3 separate regions of the Homo sapiens genome follow, and all the other regions are linked to region 2. The links are contacts of gene promoters, found by promoter capture Hi-C in blood cells and fetal thymus (Javierre and others, 2016). All regions are on one chromosome and are shown on one strand. The core of a region is centred on a gene start or on the middle of the fragment in contact, and the rest is flanking DNA. Distances in the headings are between cores, read along the strand shown.

What was found. Contacts are between HindIII fragments. The CHiCAGO score rates a contact against its expected background, and 5 or more counts as called.
Region 1: a contact is called between a fragment that was not itself captured here and the fragment with the promoter of BBX in region 2, in 1 of 17 cell types (non-activated CD4 T cells). The highest score is 6.4, in non-activated CD4 T cells.
Region 3: a contact is called between a fragment that was not itself captured here and the fragment with the promoter of BBX in region 2, in 1 of 17 cell types (total B cells). The highest score is 5.6, in total B cells.

What each region holds. Positions count from the first base shown.
Region 1 is chr3:111,982,295-111,985,620 of GRCh38, forward strand. The region is part of intron 2 of ABHD10 (abhydrolase domain containing 10, depalmitoylase); the gene reads left to right. Among named protein-coding and RNA genes, the nearest start is that of ABHD10, 4.9 kb to the left of the region's middle. The HindIII fragment of the contact is 3,051 bases long and covers 158-3,208 here.
Region 2 is chr3:107,521,697-107,524,615 of GRCh38, forward strand. BBX (BBX high mobility group box domain containing) reads left to right here and starts at 1,266. Exons shown (of 18, transcript NM_001142568.3): 1 at 1,266-1,411. RefSeq lists an enhancer at 883-932 and silencers at 1,333-1,642, 1,673-1,762, 1,873-1,942. The HindIII fragment of the contact is 5,936 bases long and covers 193-2,919 here.
Region 3 is chr3:111,667,279-111,670,345 of GRCh38, forward strand. No RefSeq gene overlaps it. Among named protein-coding and RNA genes, the nearest start is that of PLCXD2, 5.9 kb to the right of the region's middle. RefSeq lists an enhancer at 657-706. The HindIII fragment of the contact is 1,694 bases long and covers 611-2,304 here.

The DNA of each region.
Region 1 (3,326 bases), core at 433-2,932, 4.5 Mb after region 2:
CACTGGGGACTTAAGGACTTTATTTGATCACTGTTTATCTAAAAGTAATACATGTATTTAAAAGTATCATAATGCAAATTTCTGCTGAGTTTTCTCTTCCCTCTCCTGTAATCTGAATATGTATAAGCATAAATAGGGATAAGTGGTACTTAACTCAAGCTTGATTTTATAATTCCTAATTTTTCACACTGAGAGTTATTTTAGTAAATAACTTTATGTTATTATAAGGTCTACCTGTAGCAGTTATATGTTTAGTATCCACTGTCCAGAAGAGATGGTATGATTTCGTAAAAAGAAGATTAGCCTGGAATTCAAGAAACATGAGTTCTAGAATAAATTCGAGCAATAACTATGACAAGACAAGTAAGTTAATAAACATTGGACCTAAGTTTGTCATCAAAAGAAGGAGGTTGGACTAGAGATAACTTCTGAGTTATTTTCTAGCACTAACAGCCTAAAAATCTATCCATCTAAATTTTTAGAAGAGTGACTCACAAACATTCATTCAATAATTCTAGAAAATACAGCTGTATATAAAACTTTCAGACTACCTGTTCAATATATTAGCAGCAATTATGTCAATTATAAAATTAAATAAGATTTAATCTTATTTCTTTTACCAAACTAATGAATTATTTTATTTTCATACTCAGAACTATGTTAAAATCTGTTCTGACTTATTCTGAAGATTGGAGTACTTTTTGGAAATAGATTCTCTAGCACTATACTGAGTGCTGCATAATAACAAAGAATTATAAAACATTGTACTTGCCTATGAGGACCTTTCATTCAGGGTGGGGAAACACAAGATAAAATACATGTTAGAAATTTGGCAGAAATACTCATCAGAATGTGATTGTGTCAAAAGAACAGTATACTTAATTGCATAAAGTTAGAGACAGTGGGATTGAAATAGATAAAGGAACGTTGAAGAATAATTCAGATTTGGGTGGGAGGGAAGTGCTGTCCAAGGAGGGGGACTGTCCTGAGCAGAAGATCATAATATCAAAAATATTGTTATCACTTTTCTTTTTTGCCACTGAATAAATTTGAATCGAGAAATCACCATTTTACCAGTTCTAAAATTTCAGCTTTGAGACTATGAGAGTTATAACCAGTTCCTGTCTCCCTATAAGACATAATGTGGCTTTTCTGCATTTTTGGATCCTGTGTGAGTATACCTTCATAAAGAATAGTGCTTAACTACAAATATTTAGTTTGAACAAGTTCCATTTTATTTGCTCTTATCAAAGTTCATCACAGTCTAATTATTGTTAACTATTGATTGCACTTTATTATAAGAGATTTTATCTTCTATTCTCTAATTTTTCAGGTTGCTTTTGTTGGGATTTTTTGCTGTAAAATTTAGATCTTCAATGATGAAATAGTTTATTACACAAGAAATAAAACATATGACTATATGAAAATGTTTTATTAAGGTCCTATCACCATGCCTAAAATAAGACTGATTCAGATCTCAGGAATATAACATATGGTTTTAAGGCTGGTATTCTCTCATAATTATTTGTAATAGAATTTTTATTTGGGACTACATCCCAGACTATTGAGGCTGCTAAGATGGAGATGTGCTACTGTTTAAAAGTTTTAAAGTGCTGAATATGTTTGGATTATCTTTGTCTCTGGATTGGGGTTCAGTGAGAGTTAACTATATTTTTTTAATGGTACCCTGTTAGTATCACCAAGTATTTATATTTTCCTTCATGAAGGAGCTGTACAAGTATTTTGCATCCTCACCATATATTTGGAAGGCAGCTAACTGTAAAAGATGCCACATTCAGCCATATCCAATTGCCACCTATGAAGAGAGAAAAGGAGAAAATTAGTTGGTGTCTTTCCCCCTTTTTTCTTCCACCCCTTCTACCCATCTCTTACATACCCTGGATTGAGGGGGAAACAGTAACTGATTTAGACTGCACCAGTTGCCCTGTTCTATTTCCCAAGGATCCAAAATCGTTTCACTTCAAACCTAAAGAAAAATTTAATTTCTTCTCTCCCCTATTTCTCATAAATCCCTTACTTACTGTACCAGCCATTCCACCAAAAAGGTTCATTTGAACTAGGCTCTGGGAAAGGATATCAGTAAAGAAGGGAAAATATATCAGTAAAGAAGATGATGGAAGAAGGTATTCCAGGTAAAGGAATCAACAGTGTGAGATGTGAAACACATAAGAAAACATAGACCTATTTTAGGAACAGTAAGTTCATCAATTTGTCTAAAGCAGTAGTATTCCCTGATGAAGTGAGTACTACTGTAAAATTTAGTAGTAAAAAAAAATTTACTGTAAAATTTATTGTGAAATCAATCTGAAATGACCAGAATATAATGGTTCAAAAAAACAGGCCAAAGCACTAAGTGTTTATGTTGTATATCACAGGGAGCACTGAAGGTAATGCTAAAATGTTAAAGAAAAAAACTGACATGTATATAGTGACTCTATTTAAAGACAGAGTCATAGAGACACAAGATAGAAGGCTACTGTGATAGTCTAGGTCTAAGATGACAAATAAACACCTACACCAAGATACTGGACTTACCAAAGTACCAAGAAAGGGATGAACATAAGAAGAAATGAGAAAGAATGGTGATGGTATAGGGCAGGCAGTATTCTGTGGCCTGGAAAAACAAACGAATAAAACAGCCTCCTCTTAAGGAACTGACATTCTAGTCAGAGGGAGATGAATGTTTAAAAACAAACTTGATTACAATACAATATGAAAAGTGTTGAGTACATACAAAAGAAAGTGACTGGTACTAAATGGGGCATATATGTCAAGTGAAGTTCCTCAGAGGAGGTGACATGACTTAAAGGGTGACTACGAATTTGGGTTGGGGAGGAAGCTGTTCTTGGCAGCAGAACAGCATGCTAAGGCTCTAAGTTATAAAAGGGTGTAACTGGGAATTAGGAGTAGTTCAGTATGACTAGAGTTTAGGTAACCTGTGGGTGTGGTATGATACTTTATACCACCATGATTTTTTATTGATTTGATACCCTTAAGGAGAGGTAAAATTCATAGATCAGACAGATAACTGAGCCTAGATAACTAGGAAGTTGGAAGGAGAAAGGGATGGGTTGGTGATGATGAATTTTATTCTGGTCTCCTTCCCTTCCATCAATTCACTAAATATACACTAAGCACCTACCACTCGCAAGGAACTGAACTAGGCACTAGGAACGCATTGAAACAAAGCTTGTGCCCATGTGGAACTTTCATTCTAATGTGGGAGATGGACCATAAATAATCAAATATATCTCAAGTAGTAATAAGTGCTATGAAGAAAATGAAGCAGAGTAAAGAATTAGAGA
Region 2 (2,919 bases), core at 16-2,515:
TTTCTTTAAGTTTTAAAGCTACTTACCTAGGCCATAAAATCGTAGTGTTTATGTAATCTCCAAAATGTTTGTATTTGAGAATAATTCACCAACTCTTAAAACGGAAGGAACCCTAAGAAAACATCTAGGCCTAAGATAATGCCTGACACATAGTAGATGCTGAATAAACATTTAATTGAGGGAATCTGGAAAAGCTTCTTATTTTAATCTTAAAAATCAAAACCAAGTCTGAGCATTGGAGAGGTTAAGTAACTTGCTCAAGATTGCTCAGCTGGTTAAAGAGTTTAATCTACAATTTATTCCTTCTAATTTCCAGCTTTGACTTCTTTCCACCAACCTGTTGACTTATGTGTATTGAACTGTCTCATATAATCTTCTGAAGTTGCATTGTTGAAAAACAATCAGAAAGACCAGTCCTGAGGTTCATCATCTCCAAAAGTCATGCAACATATGATGTTCACATGAGATGTGAAATATGTAAAGAGTCATATATTTTTATATATAATATGCAAAATATAAATCATGTATATATTGAATCAAAGGTCTGTTTTGAAGGCTAAGGGTCAATAGCCAATCTTCCATGACTTATTTTACCTAACAGCACAGTTTGCATGTCCACACAGGTGATGGCAGTCCACTGACCAGTTAAAAGTTGTTTGGCTATTTCAGCAAAATGTTTATCTTTGTGTGTTGTTATATTGATTTTTTTGAATCTACCTACGAATGAGGCACTAACAACCTCAATGCATTAGAGTCCTGATAAACTTATCTTGCACTATTTTGGCCTATGTGATAGCTAACCCATTGACAAAAGAAATCCAAGGTGATAAAAGCCTTTCTTGGCCACTTGTTAGCCGGGTCAGGCTGTAAAATCGTAACACAATGCAGGCCTCTTCCATGGGGCACCAAAAGGCAGCGATGAAAAACCCCCCTCACTTCCATATCCAGTGGAGTTGTAGTTTATTACCATAACCCTCCCAAGTCAAAAGGACACCAGTTTCAAGCCTTGCAACTTGGTGCAGACAGGGGTTTTCCCCTTTACCCCACTCTGCTGGGCCTCTTTACCTGTCCTCTCCTACTGTCTACAGGTCCCGAACATTAGAAAATAGAAAATGTGATGATCTTTGTGTGTCTCTGTAAAATGTGTGTATGTGTGCGTGTGTTTGGGTGTAACGGGCCTCTTGTTTGGCTGCGCGGCCTGTCCGTCACTGCGCGGGCCAATGGCAGGCTGCCTTATATAAAATGAGTGTTTTCAGTCTCTCCGGGTTGCATGTACTGTATGTGGAGCAGTGTACAGTGAAGCGGAGGCAGAGCGGCTCCGCGAGCTTCTCTCCACTTTCCCATAGAGAAACCCTGACTGGCCGCTGAGGGCTAGCTACACACACGCCCTCACGCCCGGCGAGCCCGCGAGGTAGGCGCCCCCCATCCCCAGCCCTCCCTGGGCGCACTCCCCTCACTTTCTGTTTTCCTACTCACTTGCGAGCCGCCGGGCTGCAGCCCCAAGGACTCCGCGGCAGGAGCAGCGGCGGCGGCGGCGGCGGCGGCGGCGGCAGCCGGTAGGGTGGACTTGAGGAAGACGGAGGGAACCCCGCGCGTCCGGAGCCGCCGCCAGCCGGCCCGCTCCCTGGGCACTTTCCCCCTCCGCCAAAACTTTGGGTCGGGAGAGGTCGGGGGCGAGGGTCGCGGCGGCCGCGCCGGCTGGGGCCGGGGGGCGGGGGGCGCTGAGGCAGTGCCCTGCGAGCGGGAGGCTGGGGGCCGGGCTGGGGAGTAGTAGGCCAGCCGGTGCCAGGCTGCGTTTGCAACCAGCACCTCTCGGCACACAGGCAGCGCCGCCTGAGAGGGGCACGGGCGCCGGGGCGCGGGCTGGAGCGGCCCCAGGAAAACAACAACAGAGCCCTCACGCCGGCGGGCGGCTCGTGGCCGCCCGGGGAGCCCCAAACTTCATCTCGGCGAAAGTACGTGGAGCCCTGCCTGGTCTCGGCTGCCGGGGAGGTGGGGCCTGGGGAGCAGGGGCAGTGGAGGAAGGTACGAGGAGCCAGCCTTCGGTGGATTTATTGAACGTTTCGTCTGCGTTGGTGACCGGGAACAGCAGCCCAGTTGCTCGTTCATCTGGAGAGTTGGGATTTGGGTGTTCCGGCCCCGCAGATCAGTGCCCTCTCACCCCCCACCCCTACCCAAATGCGCGGCGAGTAGAGAAAGTGCTGTTTTAGTGCCAGAGTAGCCTGGAGGAAGAATAGGGGGAGAGGGGGAAGAGGGCGAGGGAGAAGGGGAGAGAGAAGAGGGAGGGAAGGGGGGGGAGAGAGGGAGACAGAGAGAGAGGGAGAGAGAGAACGGGAGGGAAGAGAGGAGGGGGAAGAGGAGGAGGGAGGCTGTGTCAGGATTTTGCTTGAATGTGGGATTATGTTGTGTCAATAAGTTTAAGGTGGAGAGAGCGAGGCTGAGGGTGGTGGTGGAGGGGAGGAGGAAGGCCTTGGCCGTTTAAAGTCTTATTTCTGAAGGTAAGTTACGGCTTTGCCTGGTCGCGATGACAGAAAACTTGCAGATCCTTTATCCGGGGATGGGGTCGATGCCTCTAGAAAGAGCTCCCTAGCCCTCTTAAGCCACACTCGTGTTACACTGTTATTTGCTGCGATCCGGGTCGCTAGTAAATTACAGAAATCAGACTCGAGGTTTCTTTTCCTCCTCCACCTCGTCTCGCTCACTCACCCTCTGAAATTTATTATCATATTTTATTTATTTTTTGGTATTGTATGAAACTTAACATAACTGAGACCGAACCCGAGTCCTGTAATTTACAAGGACCCTGAATCCCAGAATCTGGAACACGTTTATGTGTGAAATAGCCGCGATCATTTCTGCTAAATGAGGAAGGTAAAACGAAACGATGCAAAAAGCTAAGACACAACATGTACGACAGAG
Region 3 (3,067 bases), core at 208-2,707, 4.1 Mb after region 2:
TGTCATGCCTGCCATACAGGGCTCTGGGGAGTGTGCATTTACTCAGCTCCATGATTAGGGCACATCTGGCGCAAGAGTTGAGAAGCTTTGCCCTCGGGCCGCACACACATCAATCCTACCACTGTGGAGGTGATGGAGGCACTAAAGGTGACTTCCATCCAGGTCATTCATACTTCCCACTCTGAGAGCTTCATTATGTGTTTTCTGAGCCTGACTGCCTGAGCTAAGCGCATCTCATCCTGGGTGCTGAATGCGGGGAGAGGGTAGAGAAAATGTTGAGGTGTCCCCAGAGGCTAGAACGTGTTACCAGTATAAAGGTACTCCCCAAAACACAATCTCAAGCTTTTGCTGGTAGCCGCATGATTTTAGAATATTAGGTCCATATTTATATAGAAGTTCTGTTAGTCCTGACTACAGCAAATGAAGTCAAAGATTTGAGTGAGGAAAGGCAATAAAAAGGAAAGAAAGGCTTAACTGTGCAAAGACAAAAGGTATCTACAGCAGGCAGAGGGAAAAAAACAGAGTACGGTTGGAAAGACCGTGAAGTTCATGTAGTTCAATCAAGCATCAGGTGCTTCAATTCTATCATGTTACTGTCTTATTGGTGCCAAGCTTGGCTTGGATGCTTCCAGTTATAGGAACTCACTTCCTCCTCTACTTCATTATATTGCTTAACTCTGACTTCTAGAATATTCTCCTTTATACTTGGCTGAAACAGAAAGATGTGTGGCATAAATTTTACTTTCTCTTTTACTTCTGCTACTCAAAGGAAGAGGAAGCTGTGGGTGCAGATGTTGCTAAGATAAACTACAACTTCCTCCATGACCAGTTTCTGCAGTTTAGGAAGGGCAGAGCCGAACACGTGGCTGAGTTGGGGAGTTAACTACAGACACTTAAGCAAATCAGAATCCTTTGAAACAAAATCATCAAAAGGCCAAGAAGCATTTGTAAGGGCTTTTGACTACAACCTAACATTCAGAGAGAGTTGATCAGAGAGAGTTGTTGACACACTAAAAATTCATTACTTTTATTTACATTGAAATTTATTTACTTTATTAAAAAATATTTTTGTTGGTTAAGGTTGTTTGTACAAACTTGTAATTTTAATATTTAAAAAGTTGGAAGAGAATGATAGTATTAGGTAATGATAATATTACTAATTTTTACTCCATGGATGAGGTGGCATCATGCTATTTCCAATTGATAGTGGCACACCAAATTGCAGAGTCATGTTGTTAAAAGAATGCATTCCCAAGATTAGATTGGTTAAATGATAACAAATGCACAGAGGTCATTCTGTTGTGACTGAAGCTCAAGTGATTACTAATATACACATTAATACAACAATGTCTCCTAATAATAGACATAATTCTCATAATTCTAGGAACCTTGGGGTGGGGTGGTAGCCTGGAGAAAAAAAAGGTAAGGGTGGCAGATCAATTGATTTTCCTGCTAGTTGAGATCAACTATCTCTGCCAAAATAGTCTTCCTAATTGCATAAAGTTATATGCAGCATGGATAAGAATTGTTTACTCTGCCATTCTACCTATTTTAACTTTTTTAAAAAAGAGAAATTTGTTGACATTTCAAAGCCTTCATCTCAAACATTTGAGACATAAAAATCCCCTGAGGAGAACATTTTAAAGACAGGAGGAAAAGATGCCATCCCAGAGGATCTGATGCAGGAGGGTTGGCATTTGATCCAGAAATCTGTATATTGCATAAACTCCTAGTTGTTCCTGTTGCTGGTGATCTACAGGCATTTTTAGGAATAATTGACACTGACAGAACATATTATACGTGCCTGAAGTGAGCCTTGAATACCAGTAGGTGGCTCTATAACATCTTAAATCAGGGACTTTGCAGCTAACTAGCTAACTAGCTAGAAAATAAAGGCTCTGAGGCCTTTATTTCCTCTCAATTTCCTTTTCAGGGATTGGAGGTGGCGTGGGAAGGAGAAATGGAAGAGGATGCTGGAATGTGGTGTGGTAGACGGAAATGAATGGATATTAAAATGAATTTTACAATCATCACTTGTTAGTAGCCCTCTCAAAAGTATTATAGTAACGACTACTGTTAAAATAAATTTTCTGAAAGCATACCAGAAAAACTTAATGTCCAATAAACTTAAAAGGCACAGAGGCTCTTAGGGTCTTCCTGAACACCGAGCTTTCAAATCTGGGAGAAACAATCTTATGGCCAGCCATTGCTGCCGTTCACTCTTGTCTCATTACAGAATCCCAGTTGTGGGCCATAAATACCAAGTGGGCATGAGGTAATATAGACAACGCTACTTCCTGCTTAAGCTTCTGCTTCTCTTCTACCCAGTTTCTCAAGGACACACCACCTGGGTATAATCCGGGAATGGTCACAGTAAAAATGACAAAACAATAGTCTCCGGCTCTACCCCAATCAACAAAATAAGTGGATCCCAATCCTCTGTCTTCTGATGTCAGGAATGTGTAAGTTGTATCATGTGTCCACAAGTGTGTGCCTCAGTGTCTCCATTTCCTTGGAGGCTCCTGAAGATCCCCAGTTGCTGCAATGATGTCACTCTTCCTGGAGGTAATTGCTGCTGCTGTCGTCACGTCCCAGCACCACCTATGTTGGTTGCATCTCCTCATTCTCCTCTGATCTTTATCATACAGTCTTTTGGCTTGAGCTGGGTGAAGAAGCTTGGGAAAGACTAGGAATAAACTCTACTGGTACGAGGCCATAAAGCAAAGCAGCTTCTACTCCATCCCATCTTTCGTTTACTTGGCTCCTCATTTCAGTCCCTTATTCCTTTTCCACCCACCCCACTCCCCAGCCAGAAAAAAAAATTGTGTGTGACGCATCACTGTGGAACTCAAAGCATCATATAACCTCACTCTCCTCTAGGCAATATCCCTCGACCAAATACATGTCTGTGTTCTGATTCTGCTTGGGATCTGTTCCTTCCCCATCTCGTACACAGCCTGGGAAGTAAGACAGTCCTGGGGCTTAGCTCTGGGGACCAGGGACAGCCCTGGTCCCAATATCATTAAATCAATATGCTTCCTCCAAGGCTTTTTGGGTGCCTTTAATC